Linked DNA regions of Homo sapiens: all the other regions are linked to region 1. The links are contacts of gene promoters, found by promoter capture Hi-C in blood cells and fetal thymus (Javierre and others, 2016). All regions are on one chromosome and are shown on one strand. Each heading gives the region's core, a stretch centred on a gene start or on the middle of the fragment in contact. The rest is flanking DNA. Distances are from core to core; before and after follow the strand shown. Region 1 holds the start of MYSM1 (Myb like, SWIRM and MPN domains 1). Region 2 overlaps FGGY (FGGY carbohydrate kinase domain containing). Region 3 overlaps FGGY (FGGY carbohydrate kinase domain containing).

What was found. Contacts are between HindIII fragments. The CHiCAGO score rates a contact against its expected background, and 5 or more counts as called.
Region 2: a contact is called between a fragment that was not itself captured here and the fragment with the promoter of MYSM1 in region 1, in 1 of 17 cell types (monocytes). The highest score is 5.0, in monocytes.
Region 3: a fragment that was not itself captured here is called in contact with the fragment with the promoter of MYSM1 in region 1 in 2 of 17 cell types (naive CD8 T cells and naive B cells); the score reaches 5.5 in naive CD8 T cells.

Annotation. Positions count from the first base shown.
Region 1 is chr1:58,698,753-58,701,457 of GRCh38, reverse strand. It overlaps MYSM1 (Myb like, SWIRM and MPN domains 1), which reads left to right and starts at 1,396. Exons shown (of 20, transcript NM_001085487.3): 1 at 1,396-1,473. The coding sequence starts at 1,406. RefSeq lists enhancers at 1,222-1,631, 1,842-1,901. The HindIII fragment of the contact is 3,791 bases long and covers 1-2,651 here.
Region 2 is chr1:59,405,566-59,408,270 of GRCh38, reverse strand. All of the region lies in intron 5 of FGGY (FGGY carbohydrate kinase domain containing), which reads right to left. Among named protein-coding and RNA genes, the nearest start is that of FGGY, 110 kb to the right of the region's middle. The HindIII fragment of the contact is 734 bases long and covers 1,034-1,767 here.
Region 3 is chr1:59,321,552-59,324,256 of GRCh38, reverse strand. It overlaps FGGY (FGGY carbohydrate kinase domain containing), which reads right to left. Exons shown (of 16, transcript NM_018291.5): 2 at 2,507-2,705. Among named protein-coding and RNA genes, the nearest start is that of FGGY, 26 kb to the right of the region's middle. The HindIII fragment of the contact is 4,306 bases long and covers 1-2,705 here.

The DNA of each region.
Region 1 (2,705 bases), core at 147-2,646:
TTGAGATGGAATCCCGCTCTGTCACCCAGGCTGGAATGCAATGGCGTGATCTCGGCTCACTGCAACCTCTGCCTCCTGGGTTCAAGCGATTCTTGTGCCTCAGCCTCCTGAGTAGCTGGGACTACAGTTGCCCACCACTACGCCCAGCTAATTTTTGTATTTTTAGTAGAAACGGGGTTTCACCATGTTGGTCAGGCTGGTCTCGAACTCCTGACCTTGTGATCCGCCCTCCCTGGCCTCCCAAAGTGCTGGGATTACAGGTGTGAGCCACCGCATCTGGCTGTCAGTATCTAATTTCTTGAGAAACTATAAACTAGACAGAAGTGGTGTTTATCCTCCAATTTCTAACAACATGATTGTTACATGGTGAGCACTCAGTAGAGGGTCAACAAAGCCTGGATTCTACTCCTGGCTCTGTCTTTGAAGCTACCTGTCCTTGGACAGTCATTTCAGCTCTCCAGGCCTCAGTTACCTCACCTGTAAAGTATAACTGGTGATATTAGCTCTGCCTACCTCACTGGGACACTGTAAGGATTAATGGTCATGAGCGTGATTTTTAAATTGCAAAGACGTCTACAAAATAAATTACACAATCATAAGTTATATTCTTAAATATTTGTTGAATTTTAAAATAAAAGTTGTTCAGCACTTAGGTGAAATGCTGAACGACTTCACATAAGTGCTGCACGACCCTTTTCTTTAAAAAACAAAGAGAGAGACTTAAATAACCAGCAGGTATGCAACCTTCAGTTCACAAAGCGGGTCTAGCTTGACTTTTTCATCAGTCCAGAAAGATACTGCTGTTATCCCCATTTTATCAGTGAGAGCAGTGAGGTCCCAAAGAATGTGTGCAAGAACAGAAGCTCTTAGAAGCTCAGGAGGGCCCGGGCGCGGTGGCTCACGCCTGTAATCTCAGAGCTTTGGGAGGCCGAGGCGGGCGGATCACCTGAGGTCGGGAGGTCGGGAGTTCGAGACCAGCTGGGCAACATGGTGAAACCCTGTATCTACTAAAAATACAAAAATTAGCCGGGCGTGGTGGCGCATGCCTGTAATCCCAGCTACTTGGGAGGCTGAGGCAGGAGAATCGCTTGAACCCGGGAGGTGGAGGTTGCAGTGAGCTGAGATACGCGCCATTGCACCCAAGCCTGGGCAACAAGAGTGAAACTCCCTCTCAAAAAAAAAAAGCTCAGGCGTGGGCCACTTCCCAAGGTCTCTACATGTCAACAAGTTAGAAAGGACCAAGCCCCAGGCCTCTGGGGGCGCCTTTGCTCTGGAAACCCCGCCTCCCGGCACGGGAGGGGCCGGACGACGCTTCAATCCCGCCCCGTGACGCGTTAGGCCCTGCCCCCGGGCCATCTTCGTCTCGCGGGATCTCTCGGGAGGACGGACGGGGTCAGGTCCCATCATGGCGGCTGAAGAGGCGGATGTGGATATCGAAGGGGACGTGGTAGCGGCGGCGGGGGCACAGCCAGGGTGAGGCTTAGAGACCGGGTCTCTCTGGGGCGGAGAGGGGAGTGGATTGAAGGAGCGGGCCCTGGGAAAGCTGCAGGTCCGGCAAGGGAAAAGGGAACAGAAGACTGTCCCCTGGGCCAGGGTCTCTTGTTGGCCTGGGAGGCACCTCGCCCGCCGGCTTGTCCCAAGCCCAGCGGGCAGGGCGGTTACCTGGAGCTCAGGTACTCCTGGGTCGCTTTCACCTTTTGCCGGATGCTGTGAGGGCACCGATTTCGCCTACCACATTGCGTTTGATTTACATTTAGATTCCTTCTTCCGTTCCCTCCTTTTCAGGATCTCATCGACAGTAACTAGAACAAGAGCGGCTACGGACGAGACCTGAGGTCAGGGACTCTTGTTCTATGGCTTGCTAGCCGTGTGACCTTGGGCGAGTCGTTTCATCCCTTCTTCCACATGGGGATAGTTGTAAAACTTCCCGAGAAGCAGGTTGACTTAAATGGGCCAGGTTTTAGAGTTGGACAGTTCTGGGTTTTCCTTCTGCATTTGCTCGCCCTACCAGTTAATAGCAATGTGACCTTGGGCAAGACACTTAACTTGTCTGAGCCTCAGACTGCTCATATTTAAACTGGGAGTCATGATATGTAATTGGGAGGATCAAATGAAATGATTATGAGATATGCTTTAGCATACGGTAGGTGCCCTCTGAATGTATTCTTTACCATCCTGTTACCCTCGGGGACAGTACTGTGAGAATCCAGTAAGGGATCACATTTTTTAAAATACCTGTTCCAGCAGAACAAACAGCCCAGTGTGATTTGACACAGAACCTCCTTTGACTCCTTGCTTTCTGAATCAAAAATGAGTCTCCTTTTAGTCATGAAGAGTCCTAGACTAGCCAGGAATCAGAAAGCCTGAGTTCTAAAGTCAGCCAGCTATGTTGTTTATAATTATGTACAATTTCCTTAGAACTGTATTAGCTTGAACCATATGAAATTGCCAATATTTAGACCATTTTTGTTCTATAAAGCGGCAACTTCATGTAGTTCAGCCTAATATTAGGGCCTCTGTGAACAGGGGAGAAGTACTAACCCAGCGCTTGAGGCACTAAGATAGTGTGTTTAGAAGTGTATCATGAACTCTAAAGCCCTATAAAGACGTGAGGGGTGATTAAACTCATATGGTCATTGTCCCTCAAAGCTTTGCAGATGAGTAGGGAGCCCTTAATAACAATACTTGTTGACATTCATTTAGTG
Region 2 (2,705 bases), core at 151-2,650, 710 kb before region 1:
CTAGGAGAAAGAGAGAACTTACTGGGTGCCAGGAATTGTGCTATCTGCTATTTATGCAATGTCCCATTTTTCCAGCACAACAAACATAAATGGTATCAGGTTCTCAAGCCAACACAGCTTGCAGGTGGCAAAGCCCAATGCACTTGCCCCAGAATTCGAGTTTTTCTCCATCATGACACCACATGGCCTCCCAATGAAATGCTGAGAGTCAAGGCAATCTTTTCTAGTATTACTTATGAGAACAAAGAAATATTCCGTATTCCTGGGAAAACAAAATACCACAGCAAAGTAAAGAGTACCTTTCCTGTGATTTCCACTTTAGCAGAAAGCAGATGAGAAACCTTTTGGTCCAAGAGTTAAAACAAGATGATGAACAATTTACATGTAGTAGGCAATAAATATTTAATGCCACTTGGTACAGCGGTTCTTCAAAAATGTCTTCCAGCTCTGAAGGCCTTTCTGTTAATCCACACTTCAGGGGGTGCAGCCATGGCTTGAGGAAAATACATTTTTAATAAGGACTGTGCCAACACAGGGGGCTTAAAATGCTGTATAGCATTCCAGTTTTTAGAGCCCTCAGGGAATCTCACACTCTGGGGGAAAAGGGTCCTAATGTGAAGAAGTGAATGGAAAGAGGCCAGAAAAAATTATATCCTAGGGAAGGAGGCCCTGTTAGAGCCTGGTCAGGATAACTATCAGAATATTTTTTTTTCTCTCTCCCCGTGGATGAGCTAGTCAGGTTCAAGGGAATCATATTCCAGACAAATAAGCTCAGGACAAGAGGCACCGGCTGCTTTCCAAGCATTGATGGCATCTTAGCTGCTTAATCTGTGCCTGCAGAGCTGCAACATCACACACTCAGTGTGCAGGCCCTGGTGTCGAACCACCCCCTCCTCCCTTTTCTCAGGCGGTCTTGTAAAGTGTTGGATCTTTGCTACCATTCTCTCATTTTTTGTCTTGCCTTGGCTTTTAAATCTGATGCTCTACCCAGGGGACAGGGAAGAAACTCAGAGATCAGCATCAGCAGGAAGCTTCTTCCACCCATCAGCTAAAAGGACAAAGGAAGAAGGCAGGGCTAAAGCTCGAGACCCAGGACCAACCAGCCGATGACAGAGCCATGGAGGACCCAACCTGCAGGTGGGATAGCTGTAGAGGGGCCACTGCCAGAGATGCTGCCCAAGGCAGACAGAGGGAGGGACAAATACTCCAGCTTCTCTTTCTCTTGCCTTGCCATCTCCCACTGATGACAAATTGTCAGGGGGCAGGGGTCAACCCCCTGTAACACAGCACCCTTGCAGAGCAGGGCAAGGGTGACAAATGGATCTCAGTGCAAACAGCCCAAAGGCCAACACAATTGATAAGTTAAAAGACAGGTTGCAGAATCGTGTATCATGTGATATCATAATTGCTAAATATATGCATATATAATTTAAGTAAATATATGCATATCATATACACACAGATTGAGGTAACAAGAGATGGAAAGATCAAGCAAGAGCAAGGAGAAAAGGAGAAAGATACATGGCTGACCTTATTATTTTTGGTAGTCTCCAAAAACATTAAATTAGGGAACACTGGACCATTGTTCCTAAGGGAAATACAGGGCTAGGTTCCTCTGAGCCTCCAGTTATATTTTTGCCAACTCATCAATACGCAACCCTGTTTCATGTGTATTCTTGCTTAAAAACAACTCATTTAATATATATTGTTGAGTCAATAACACTGAACTTACAGCCAACAGCACTTAACTCCTGCCTGAATGAAGCTTATCAAACACACGTTATTGTCTCTGTAAGGCACATCGCAGCTTTCTTGCACTGTACTTGAACACTACACAGTACTTTTGCACAATGCTTGGGGTGCATTTTAAATGGTGAAATCGCCAACAAAAAGCACAAAAATGAGAAAAACATGGCACGAGTAGACTTCGAAAAGGACACTTGTTTACACTATGAGAGCTGAAACAAGAAGGCAGGGTGTTGTGTTATTTGCCATCGGCTAGGAACACGCATGACGAGAGACTCAGAAATTATCCTCCTCTCTGAGCATTTCTGCGAATGACTGTGAAAGTGCCACAAGTATTGATTTGAGGGTTACAAATAAGATTTAGTAAGTAGGCAAATTTGCAAACAAAGAATCTGCAAATAATGAAGAATCAACTGTCTATTAACAGGCTTAAAAAAGCTTTTTAAAAAACATTTGTTCCTGGAAAATAGGAGATAGAATGCTTTTTGTTTCACTACATTTTTGTCTTCTTTTCTATCTTATTGTTCTCTAGTTTTTCTTCATTGAGCTTGCAATTAAGTGGGGAAGAGGACTCTAAATATCAGATTTCAAAAAGAAAAAAAAAAAAGCTAGGGGAAAAAGCACTAAGAAGTAGAATAATTTAGCCTAACGGGAGATCATCGTAACATAGCACCAGAGAGCAGAGCAGGTCATCCTCACTGTGTGACATGAGGAGCAGTCTCAAAGTGTTTCCCACACCAAATTTCTACCACTCCTCTAGCCAACCAACCAAGTGGGGCAAATGACTAAGGTCGACTGGGGGGTAGGCTAAAGGTGGGAGGTTCATACAAGTTACCTTCCTGAGTAGGTATCTAACATTCCATGGGACAGGTTAGCCTGGACTTATAGACTCACACCTTCCCCATCCATCTCTAAAAAAAAATCTTATTTTATGCTCATTCGATGTTTACTAGTGAGAT
Region 3 (2,705 bases), core at 95-2,594, 620 kb before region 1:
TAAGGATAAAATGAAGTGATGGGTAAAAGCTCTTCAGTATAGTACCTGGACCAGTGTGCCCAAGAACTGTTAGCTGTCTTTGTCATCATCATTGACACCACATTATCCTTACTGTTGCTTTAACTAAGAGGAAAGTCATCTCAGGCAATGTGAATGACTTAGGGAAAAGGAATTAGAACAACTGCTCTGAAGCTCTCAACTTCCTGGAGTCCATGAGGAAGAAAAGACAGACCAGGACATATCTGATGCCACCCTTTGCCCTAGACCAGTGTTTCTCAAAGTGTTACACAGTAAGAACCCTAACCAGGAGAGTGAATGAATATTCCCAAGAAGCGCCTCCCCCGCCGTAGACTTTGACTTTTCAGTATTTTGTCTTAGAAATTCACTATCTTCTATAATCTGCTCATTTTCTGTCACCATCAGCACCACCATAGGAAACAACCCATACACATTTCTAGGCAATGTTATGACATCCTATGTGCATTAATTCATTTAATCCTCACAACAATCCTATGGAAGTAGGTACTAATGTCATTTCCATTTTACAGATAAGGAAACTGAAGCAAGAAACATTAGGTAACTTGTCCAAGATCACAACCTAATAAACGTTGTAAGTGGGATGTCAATCTAGGCAGTCTGGCTGCAGAATCTGTGCTCTATAACAGGTCACCTACCTCTCTCATTCCTATGGTGTTATTATCTCTCTAACATAAAAATGCTTCCCTCCCTAAGCCTCACACCAGCAATGATGTTCCATATAGATGTAACATGCTTATCCTGTGGCTTCTGGCACATGCCCACATATCCATACTCCATCTGAGGAGAATCGCCTAAGACCCAAGGGCTTCATTTAGGTTTGCTATAGTGCAATAGCATTGCTATCGACAGATGTCCATGGTACTTATGCAGCTAACAGGGCTCAAACAGATGATAAGTTGGCCACCACTGGGAGATGATTAAAAATCTACCATTAAACCAGCTGTACTTAGAGTAGACCTTTTTTAAAGTAGCTTTTCATCAGGGGATTATATTTTCTTCTTGATAATTTCCTTAACGGCAAGCAAGGCTGTATGTTAAAAGAAGAAAGAAGGCCCAAGTGCAAAGAGTAGAAGATTCTTACCAGATTGGGGGCTGAAAGGAGGGGAGAGGAGAGGAAAATTAAATGGGCAAAAGAGAAGATGCATCCCTCTTTTATTCCTGTATAATGCTCTGGTACTGCCTACCCACTCCCTCCTCTCTCTGCCTTCTTCTCCGGGGGCACTAACAGCAGCCCAGAATTCATTAAAGTTTAAACAGACTGATCAATAGGGACAGAATGGTGAATTGTCCATCTGCAAATTACCAAGCACCTCATGAATATTTAAGGAACTAAACTAGGAACAGGGAAAAGAAGGAATCCAGGACTTTATTTTTCCCCATGGAAAAAAAGACAAAAGGACCTCTGTCATTACTGATCACCAAGACATAAAATCAAACAGTCAAGTGAAACTTTAAAAACAAACAAGAATTGTGAAGCATTGCTTTCCTTCCCAAGCCAGCAGGCTGCATCCAATCCAAGGCCACTCAGGGTGAACATATGCCTGGCATATATGGGAGACACTCTAATCTGACTCCTTTGCTTTATCAGAACACACCATGTTTTCGTGCCACCATGCCTTTGCATATGCTATTCCCTCTGCCCAAAATGCAGTTCCTCTCATCCTCATTTGTCCACTTGGAAGGCAGCAGAGTCCAATGGTTAAGAGTGCACCTCGGAGGCAAAGGTATAGGAATGATACAATTGGACTTTGGGAACTCGGAGGAAAGCGCTGGGGGGTGGTGAGGAATAAAAGACTACACATTGGGTACAGTGTACACTGCTTGGGTGATGAGTGCACCAAAATCTCAGAAATCACCACTAAAGAACTTACGTAACCAAACACCACCTGTTCCCCAAAAACCCATTGAACTTTTTTTAATTAAAAAAAAAAAAAAAAAAGAGCGCACCTCTGGAGTCAGACTGCTTTGTTCTAGTCCTGCCTCTGCTACTTACTGTGTGAACTTGAGTAAGTTACCTAACTTTTCTGTGCCTACATTTCTCCCTCAATAAAATAGGGGTAGTGACAGTATTACCTTTATAGGGTCATGTGAAGATGCAACTACACAGTGCAAGTTAACACATTTTACACAGCCTTTGGCACACATTAAAGGCGTGGTAAATGTTAATAAGGTGATCAGTGAATTCTTCCACATGTGGTCACACCTCAAGCTGTCCTGTCTTCCCTGAGCCCCCTCCGGTTAGCTCTTTCCCCAGCTCCAGCTATAGTTACTTTGATCCCAGCTCTTACCATATATTAGCTGTTTATCAGTCTCTGCCAGTAGACTGTGAGCTCCTGAAGGGCAAGGCCTATGTCTTGCTTACCTCTGCATCTAAAGTTACCCCAACATTGTTTACGGCACCAGATTGACACACGACACTCAGCAGGTAGGAATATGAACAAGGAGAGAACACCAGTTTTGCCCATACCTTTGTGACAACACAGCACGCAGCCCAGATGTCCTCGGAGGACTGCTCATGGTGGTTGAACTGGGGCTCCCAATTCTTAATTGGCTGGTCTGCAAAAGCCAACAGGACCCCACTCTGGTCCACCAGAGCTGCACGGACACTGCCTGTTCCAACGTCCACACCCACATAGTACCTCTCTGGTTTCTGTTCTCCACCAGAC